Linked DNA regions of Homo sapiens: region 1 is linked to region 2. The links are contacts of gene promoters, found by promoter capture Hi-C in human tissues and cell types (Jung and others, 2019). All regions are on one chromosome and are shown on one strand. The core of a region is centred on a gene start or on the middle of the fragment in contact, and the rest is flanking DNA. Distances in the headings are between cores, read along the strand shown. Region 1 overlaps CHMP7 (charged multivesicular body protein 7). Region 2 holds the start of EGR3 (early growth response 3).

Region 1 (4,510 bases), core at 1,874-4,373, 560 kb after region 2:
CTCAATCCATAGTGACTTTCCACTAGACTTTTTCTTCCAACCCTATATCCAGTTACCAGTGTTATCTTCTGAATTTTGTTTGTCTCCACCACTCCTCTTTCTATGTTTATTATTCAAATAGCCTGTTGTTCAGACCCACATAATCTCTTGTGTAAATGGTCTCCTTGCCTCTAATCTTAACTCTACAATCCATCGTCTCCCAATTGGCAGTTAGCTTTCTGTTAATCTAGCCATGTCAGTTTCCTTCAGTGACCACCCACCATCTACAGAATAAAGGATCATCATAAGATATTACACTTTCTATAATATAGGATATTACACTTTCTATAATATAGGAGTGCTTCTCCTCTCTCTCCTTTCCCCTCTACATTTGTACACGTGCCGCATTGACCCACCCTTCTATGCTCATGTTCCTCTCTCTTCCCGAGATACCCGTTTCACCTCTTCACCTAGGAACTTGCTCACTCTTCAGAATTCTGCTCAACTTTTTTTTTTTTTCAAGAAATCCTGAATCCCCAGGCAGTCCTTCCCTATATTTTCATAGCATCCCATGGACACCTCAGTCTTTCTTGTTTCTGGTAGTAATTTCCATGTATGAGCGAAATGGTGACATTATTTCTTGGAACTTATATTTCTTACTCTTGTCACTAATCTTATCCCATCTGTTTATTATGTACTTTTCTTTGTTTTTTGTTTTGTTTTGTTCTGTTTGAGACAGAGTTTTGCTCTTGTCGCCCAGGCTGGAGTGCAGTGGCGCGATCTCGGCTCACTGCAACCTCCGCCTCCCAGGTTCAAGTGATTCTCCTGCCTCAACCTCCCAAGTAGCTGGGATTACAGGTGCCCGCCATCACATCCAGCTATTTTTTTTTTTTGTATTTTTAGTAAAGACAGGGTTTTGCCATGTTGGCCAGGCTGGTCTCGAACTCCTGACCTCAGGTGATCCTGACCTCAGGTGATCAGCCTCCCAGAGTGCTGGGATTACAGGCATGAGCTGCCACGCCTGGCCCTTTTCCCTTAAGGCTTTTTACAGAGTCAATAATGTTTGTGTTTGCAGTATAGCCAATTGGCAGGAAAATGGAGAGACTACAATTGGAAGGGAATTAGATGTCATTTCATCCACCCTCTTCAGAGAGTGATACTGAGGACTAGTGAGGCTGTGACTGGCCCAAGGTCACCCAGGCTAGGCTGGAAATCAGGCCTCAGCTCTCGTTCACAGCTGTTCTACCTCACCTCACCTCCTCAGTCTTCCCTTGGGAAACCACAGGCCAGTGAGAGGCAGGAGTGTAAAATCCCCGATGGGCGTGCAGCGCAGAGCTGGCTCCCAGCATCTCATGTGCCTCATTTCATGTGGAGTCACCAAACTTTCCTCCAAGGCTTAAAAACACAGATCCTTCCTCCTTTTTGAAAAGCCGCTACTTTGGGGAGGATGGGGTTGGGATTCCCGGGTGCTTGCCTTGTGTGATCATGGTTTTGAAACTCAGGGTCAGGGTCCCTGCATCCCATGGCAGTGGCCAGGGCCTGTCAGCCAATGTTGCCTTTCCCACAGGAAAAGGCTGAGGAGGTGTATCGTCTGTATCAGAACTCGCCCCTCTCCTCCCACCCCGTGGTGGCCCTGTCAGAGCTCAGCACCCTCTGTGCTAACTCCTGCCCAGATGAGAGGACCTTCTACTTGGTGTTGCTGCAGCTGCAGAAGGAGAAGAGGGTCACAGTCCTCGAGCAGAACGGGGAGAAGGTATGGAGGCTCATCTGTTCATTCACTGACTCAGCAGTGATTGATTAAGTACATAGAGTAGTGAGCCCTTATCTCAGATTTTGGTTTCCAGAGTTTCAGTAACCTGCCGTCAACCACGGTCCAAAAATAATAAGTGGAAAATTCCAAACATTAACAGTTCCATAGATTTCAGTTGTGCACTGTTCTGAGTAGTGTGATGGGACCTCGTAGTATCCCGCCTGTATGCGCATCCCTGCTTTGTCCAGCATCTCCCCGCCTGAGTCACTTAGGAGTCGTCTCAGTGATCAGATTGACTGTCACAGCATTGCAGTGGTTGTGTTCAAGCCACCCTTATTGTACTTTTTTTTTTTTTTTTTGAGATGGAGTCTTGCTCTGTCGCCCAGCAATGGCGCAATCTGAGCTCACTGCAGCCTCCGCCTCCCGGGTTCAAGCGATTCTTCTGCCTCAGCCTCCCAAGTAGCTGGAATTACAGGCATGCGCCACGGCCCCTGGCTAATTTTTGTATTTTTAGTAGAGAAGGGGTTTCACCAGTTAGCCAGGCTGTCTTGAACTCCTGACCTCAAGTGATCTGCCTGCCTCGGCCTCCCAAAGTGCTAGGATTACAGGTGTAAACCACCGTGCCTGGCCTATTATACTTAATAATGGCCCCAAAGCACAAGAGCAGTGGTGCTGGCAGTCCAGATTTACCAAAGAGAAGCGGTCAAGTGCTTCCTTTAAGTGAAAAGGTAAAAGTTCTGGACCAAATAAGGAAGACCAAATATCATTTGCTGAGTTTGCTAGGATCTACAGTAAGAATGAATCTTCTATAGGAAAAATTGTGAAGAAGGAAAAATGTTTACATAGCTATATGTATAGGGTTCAGTATTCTCTGAGGGTTCAGACCTCCACAGGGGATTCCATTCACTGGAACATATCCCCCATGGATAAGGGGGGCCTGCTGTTCTCACATGCCCACCACCAGCGCTCCTGGTTGGGAATTTCTCAGCCTTTGTGGTAGCAGCAGTAGTAATTTCTCCCTGTCCCTCAGATTGTGAAGTTTGCCCGAGGGCCACGTGCCAAGGTCTCTCCAGTCAATGACGTAGATGTTGGGGTGTACCAGCTGATGCAGAGTGAACAGCTTCTCTCACGCAAAGTGGAGTCCTTATCCCAGGAAGCAGAGAGGTAACTTTTAACCCTGAACTGAGCCTCCTCCCCACTGTTGCTGGCCCCCAGAGCCAGCAAAATGTTAGTATATGTGGGCTTTTAAAAAATAGGTGGGTTTTTTTTTTTTTTAGCTAATTACAAAAGTACTCACTGCTCAATGCAGAAATCATGGAAAGCACAGAATATCACAAAAGAGAAAAAAAAATGAGGCCTCTTTTTTTTTTTTTTTTTTTTTGAGACGGAGTCTCGCTCTGTCACCCGGGCTGGAGTGCAGTGGTGCGATCTCGGCTCACTGCAAGCTCCGCCTCCTGGGTTCACGCCATTTTCCTGCGCCAGCCTCCCGAGTAGCTGGTACTACAGCCACCCGCCACCACGCCTGGCGAATTTTTTATATTTCTAGTAGAGATGGGGTTTCACTGTGTTAGCCAGGATGGTCTGAATCTCCTGACCTCGTGATCCGCCCGCCTCTGCCTCCCAAAGTGCTGGGATTACAGGCGTGAGCCACCGTGCCCGGCCTTTTTTTTTTTTTTTTTCCTCAATTGAGACAGGGTCTTGCACTGTCCCCTAGGCTGGAGAGCAGTGACATGATCTTAGCTCACTGCAGTCTAACTCCTGAGCTCAAGCAATCTTCCCGCCTTAGCCTCCTGAGTAGCTGGGACCACAAGTGTGCACCACCATGCCTGGCTAATTTTTAATTTTTTGTTGAGATGGGGTCTCACCATGTTGCCCAGGCTGGTCTCACACTCCTCGGCGCAAACAAGACCCCCACCTCAGCCTCCCAAAGTGCTGGGATTACTGGGGTGAGCCACTGTGCCCAGCTGAAAACGTGAGTCTTAATGCTTCCCCCACAGACCATGACTGTGAATGTTATGTTTATGCTCTTCCTTGCCAGTGTCCATTCAACTAATATTTATTGAGCCAGGCATTGTCTTAGGGACTGGGGATACAGCCGTGGACAAGACAGGTCCCTGCCTTTGCAGAGGTCTTTCTGAGGGGCTCTTCCCCTGCCCTTCCCCCTGAATGACTGTACAAGGAATCCCTAATAAAGACACACCCTCTGGCAGGAGAACACAGACATTGAAGTCTGTCTTCCAGGTGGGAAAGTCTAGCCTTGTTGGGAGGCAGAGGATATGTCCGAGGTCATTGTTGGTGTTAACAGTTCCTTCCCTGTCTCCCCAAAACAGGAAGATGTGTATAATGTGCCCTGTTTGCATGTTCTGTCCCTGTGGGTTGAAAAAGCTTATCCTTAGTCAGCCTGCTTGAGCCTGCCACAACAGACTGTCAACAGACTTGCCACAAGAGTTTTTGCCGTCAGCATCAGTTTTCTTGCCACTGGGTATTGGGTTTAGTCTTCAGATTTAAAACCACCTTAACTGAGTGCTGCTCTCAGGGACCCTTTGGGACCCTGCCACTCCCATCCTGTGGCACAGTAATCTTATCTGTCCCTTTGTTTCCAGGTGTAAAGAAGAAGCCCGCCGGGCATGCCGAGCAGGAAAGAAGCAGCTGGTGAGTTCTTGTCTCCTCCAGACCCATAGCAGTGCCCCAGGCAGGCCTGGAGCAATGCCCAGCAGTTCAGAGAGCAGCTTGCTGGGGTTTTGAGGGGGGTAGAGTCTGCAGGGGGCCCAGGCACCACAG
Region 2 (4,365 bases), core at 296-2,795:
CCCACGCGCGCTGCTCCCGGGTCGCCGACCCAGAGCGCTCCGACGCTTTGTCCTCGGAGCGTAGAAGGGTGTCGCCCTCAAAGGGAGCTCTCCCTTCACCTACCCCGGCCCCAGCCTCCTCGGGCATGAAGGAGCTTTAGGCTCTTGCTGGAGGGGAAAATCCTAGCCCCAGCTAGGGAGGGTGGAGAGCGGCGGAAAACCGGCCGGTGTCTCCATGGCGGGAGAGGCCGCCCTTCCCCAGCTCCCCGGCCCCGGGATCGTTCCCCGTGGCAGGCCCTCGCCCCGCGGGTGAACCCCCTCCTTCTCCCCGCCGTCCCCACACCCCCACGGCTTTGCTGAACGCCCCGGAAAGGCAGCGTCGCAGTACCTCTCCCACCGCGGGGACTCCACGCCGCACATGGCTCCATCCCGGGTGGGAGGCTGAGGGAGTAAGGGGGGAGAGCGCGGGTGAAAAAGACGCCGGGCTCCTCCCGGGAAGAGGGCGACAGCACCACGCCTTGCGCGTAGCCCGGCGATCGGGCCCCCTGCGTGGTGAGGGAGAACCCCAGAGCCGCTCGCACCTACCTCCCTCCGGTCGGCGGCTGCCCCCACCCGGGAGAACCGAAGCCTCTACCGTGGCGTCGCCAACCTAGCCTTCTCGATCGAGGAGGGCGGGAGGAGTGGGTGGGAAAAGCAACTCGCCCCCCGCAAAATTCCCAGCGCGCCCCCATCTCTCCATCCATTTATCTATCCACCCATCCACCCATCCATCCATCCATCCATCCATCCATCCATCCATCCATCACCAGGTCGTCCCCTCCTCCTCTTCCTCTCCCCTTCCTTCCTCGCTGCCTCGCCGCCTCCCCGCCGCCCTTACCTGTAGCCATCTGATTGTAATGGACTACCGAGTCGCTGCTGCCGGAGAAGAGGTTGAGCGCGCTGGGGATCTCCTCGGGGTACAGATTGTCAGGCAGTTGGTTTAGCAAACTGCTCATGGTCACCGGCAGCTTCTCGGCGAGTTTGCCGGTCATAGCACTCCCGAGCTGCCGCCGCCGCCGCCACCGCCGCCACCGCCGCCGCTCGCTCCTAACGCAGCTTCCAGGCAAGCGGCATCCGAGAGGCGATCCGTGGTGCAGGGGAAAAGCATGCGAGAGGGAAAGTTCGGGGGGAGGGGGGAGGGAAGAAGGGAAGGGATGGGCCAGGAGAGGGGATCTTCTCTTTTTTGGGGGGCGGGAGAGGGCCCCAGGGGGTAATCCTCTTGGGTGCCTCAGCTGGTGCGGTATGAGGCTGGGTCGTGGGGGGGGTGGGGCGTGTGCGGGGGGTGGGGTGGGGGCTGGGCTGGGGGGGGATCTCGGCTCAAGGGGGTCGGACGCGGCCTCAGTATTGATCTCACAAACAGACACGCGCCCGCCGCCCCCCCGCCCCCCGATCTGCCACCGCCACCGCCACCGCCACCGCCGCCGCCGCCGCCGCCGCCGCCGCCGCCTCTGCCGCCGCTGCCGCCGCTGCTACCACCACCACCAGCCCCGCCGCTTCCTAGCAAGCTCACTGCTGCCCAAAAGCTCCCAGCCAGGGAACTCCACCAGCCTATTTATCTGAGCCCCGGGAAAGCTCCGTGACGTAGCTGCCCATATATGGACAGACAAAGCCCAGCCGAAGGGGCGCGACGTCACAATGGAAGCTCCTCACAATGGAACATTAGAAAGCAGGAAGCGGGCCGCAGCCAACGTGCGGCGCCCGCACCGCTCGCGGCTCTTGAAAAAAAGAGAAGGGGAGAAGAAACAAGAAGAATGCGAGAAGAGAGAGGAAAGAAGGATACAGCTGCATGCAAAGCGCAAAGCGCGTAGCGTGGAGTCGAAACACCAGTAACTCATTGTGTGTGTTTATTTGAGGTTTGCGTTAGGAGAGCGCATTGGGGAGAGGTGGGCGGTGGGGTGGGGTTGTTTGCAAGTGGTCTCCAACACCCCAGCAGTTAGAAAGAGAGTTGAAAACATCTGGCGAAATCCCTTTGCAGCCCGGGAACTGCTGGGGAACCCGGAAGGCGTGCGTTGCGCCCCTGCTACCTCAGCGGCTCCAGCGTTCGGGATCCTATCCGAGATTAAGAGAAAGGGAGTGCTTCCCTTTGTGGGGGGAAGGAGGGGTGCGCGCAGGGTTGGGGGGGTGTTTCAACTTGTCAGAATTCCTTGGTCCAATATCCCAAGAACTTTTGTGCCAACTTCACTCTGATTCGCCGCCCCTGCCCCTCCCTGGGCCCCTGACCCGGCGCTGACTCTAGGCTGAGCGCAGTGGCGAGGAGATTCGGAGCACCCCAGCAGTTGCGCCAAAGACAAGAGCCCCATCCATATGGGGTCGAGGATGTGCGGTTTTCGTGGTGAAGAGGAAAGAATGAAGTTGAAGGGATAGATAAACACGTGCACTGAATCCCCAGTAAATTCCCTAACGGTTCCAAGCAGCCTCTGTGGCCACAGGATGGCAGGAGGGCCCAGCAGGCCCGGGCGCAGTCGCTGTCTACTGCTGCCTGCGAAGGGCCCGCCAGAGTTCCAGAAGGAGGACGCCGAACCCACAGTCTCTGAGCCACTGGGGGCCTCCCCTAGTCTCTGCCCTCCCCCTCGCCTTCCACAGGGCTGTCCCCATTGCTGCCTGCCGGCGCTCCGCAGTCAAGGGCGGCCTGTGTGCCGACCCGGAGCGCTTTCACCTCCCGGAGCGGCAGCAGATCCCGGGGGCGGCTGCTGTGCTCCCTGGGGCCTGCTCCCGAGGCGCGCGCAGCCGGCCCGCGGGCGAGGGGGAGGAGAGGGCGGGAGCATGGGGGTGCGACCCCAAATCACATCGGCTTGGCGGGGGAGGATTCCCTCCTCGGTGGCCGCGTGGGCGCGGTGAATCCCTCGTCCCCTCCTGGGGAGTCGGGGTTGGGGGAACGTGCATTTCTCGGGGGGAGTGGGAGTGTTGACAAGGAAGAAGAGAGGATCCCCGGGCCTCACGCCGTGGGAGGGCCACGCGGGCCGGGGACGTGTGGGAGGAACTCCCGAGCTGCACGTTGTGGTGGAGGTGGATGACAACCTCGCTCCCCTCCCCTCCCCTCCACTCAGTGGAGGGCTGGGGACCGGAGGGCCCGGCCTCCCCCCATCTTCTCCAGTTCTTAGGAAAGGAGGGATTCCCGCCTCCCGCGAGCCCCCTCTCTCCACCCCCGCCGCCTCTCCCGCCAGGCTCCCCACTCCTATACTAGGGAGCCACAGCGCCCCCCGGGCTGTCCTCCGCCAGCGCGGCTCAGGGAGGGAGAGCGCTGCAGCGGTCCCGCGCTCCGGTCAGAATCAGGGCAGGCTGCGCCTCCCGCCCCCGGCTCCCTCCCTTAGGGGGGGCGCGCGGCCGGTCGGGGGGCGTGGGCGGCGGTGTGAGCCGGGCTAGGTGCGGGAGGGGCCCGGGCGGCTGCGGGGAGGGTCGCAGGGCGGCGGGCCAAGCCGGGAAGAGCCATACAAGGAGCGGATCCGGTGACGCGCCGGCCGCGCCCCTTCTCCTTCTCGATTTGGCTGCAGATTCCGGTCCCAAGATTTGCATATTTTGGCATCCAGTGGAAAAGGAAAGAAGAACGGAACCCGCAGCCTTTAAAGGAACCGCACAGGCTGTAGCGTCACCCAGGGAGGCGGTGGGGGTGGGGGTGGGGGCCTGAAAAATTAGCCAGCGGCTCTGGCCTCTGGCCGTAGAGCCCGGCAGCAGGGAGGGCCAGGGAGGGGCGGCAACCAGCGAGCTTCGGGCGCGCCAGTCCCAGACCTGGCCCCTCCAGAGTGCTTCCTGCTGCGCGTGCACCCGGAGGCTGCGGAGGGTCTCCACGGGTTCCTGCCTGGGGCCGGGAGACGCTGTGGGGTCCGCGGTCCTGGGCGAGCTGCAGGCCCGAAGGCTGCAGTGCCCATGTCTCCCCGCGCGAGGCAGAGCTCAGCCTGCGGGGGTGGTGGGAAGGAAGTGAGAGGCCTCCGGGCCGCCCAGCTCAACTCCGGAGGACCCCACCGTGATGCACCCACTTTCCACCTGTCAGGATCTCTCCCCAGGAGGGGCTGCAGAGTGAGGAGCTAGAAGCCCTTATCCTGTTCGACTGGGGCCTGAGTTGGGAAAGGCAGAGGCAGTGGAAGCATTTGGGATCCTTAAGCTTCCAGGGCCCCAGAGGCTGTGGAGTGCAGCCACTCCCAACTGGAGGAGACGGCCTCTCTCCCAACACTTTTCGGCACGCTGGACTTGTTGCTTCCAAGTAGAAGAGCATGGGGCAAGGTTTGCTGACCTGCACCAGGGCTTGCTTACCCGTCAGCAAGATTGGATAGGAGTCTGGGGACACGATTCCTTCCCTCTCCTTTCTACTAGTTCTTTGCATAAAACGGGAGCCTTCAATTCAATTAAAGT

What was found. The method cuts DNA at HindIII sites, captures the fragments that hold promoters and counts their contacts. A contact is called where the count stands out against the background at its distance.
Region 1: a contact is called between a fragment that was not itself captured here and the fragment with the promoter of EGR3 in region 2, in 1 of the 25 tissues and cell types used here (spleen).

Annotation. Positions count from the first base shown.
Region 1 is chr8:23,253,701-23,258,210 of GRCh38, forward strand. It overlaps CHMP7 (charged multivesicular body protein 7), which reads left to right. Exons shown (of 11, transcript NM_152272.5): 4 at 1,547-1,732; 5 at 2,760-2,893; 6 at 4,333-4,381. Among named protein-coding and RNA genes, the nearest start is that of CHMP7, 12 kb to the left of the region's middle. The HindIII fragment of the contact is 3,113 bases long and covers 1,568-4,510 here.
Region 2 is chr8:22,691,935-22,696,299 of GRCh38, forward strand. It overlaps EGR3 (early growth response 3), which reads right to left and starts at 1,546. Exons shown (of 2, transcript NM_004430.3): 1 at 857-1,546. The coding sequence starts at 1,010. It overlaps LOC105379321 (a long non-coding RNA gene), which reads left to right and starts at 2,923. Exons shown (of 3, transcript XR_001745832.2): 1 at 2,923-3,280; 2 at 3,510-3,598; 3 at 4,007-4,365. RefSeq lists silencers at 1-165, 576-645, 1,508-1,627, 1,572-1,735, 2,618-2,837 and 2 more and enhancers at 1,780-2,425, 2,258-2,367, 2,408-2,507. The HindIII fragment of the contact is 10,174 bases long and covers 1-4,365 here.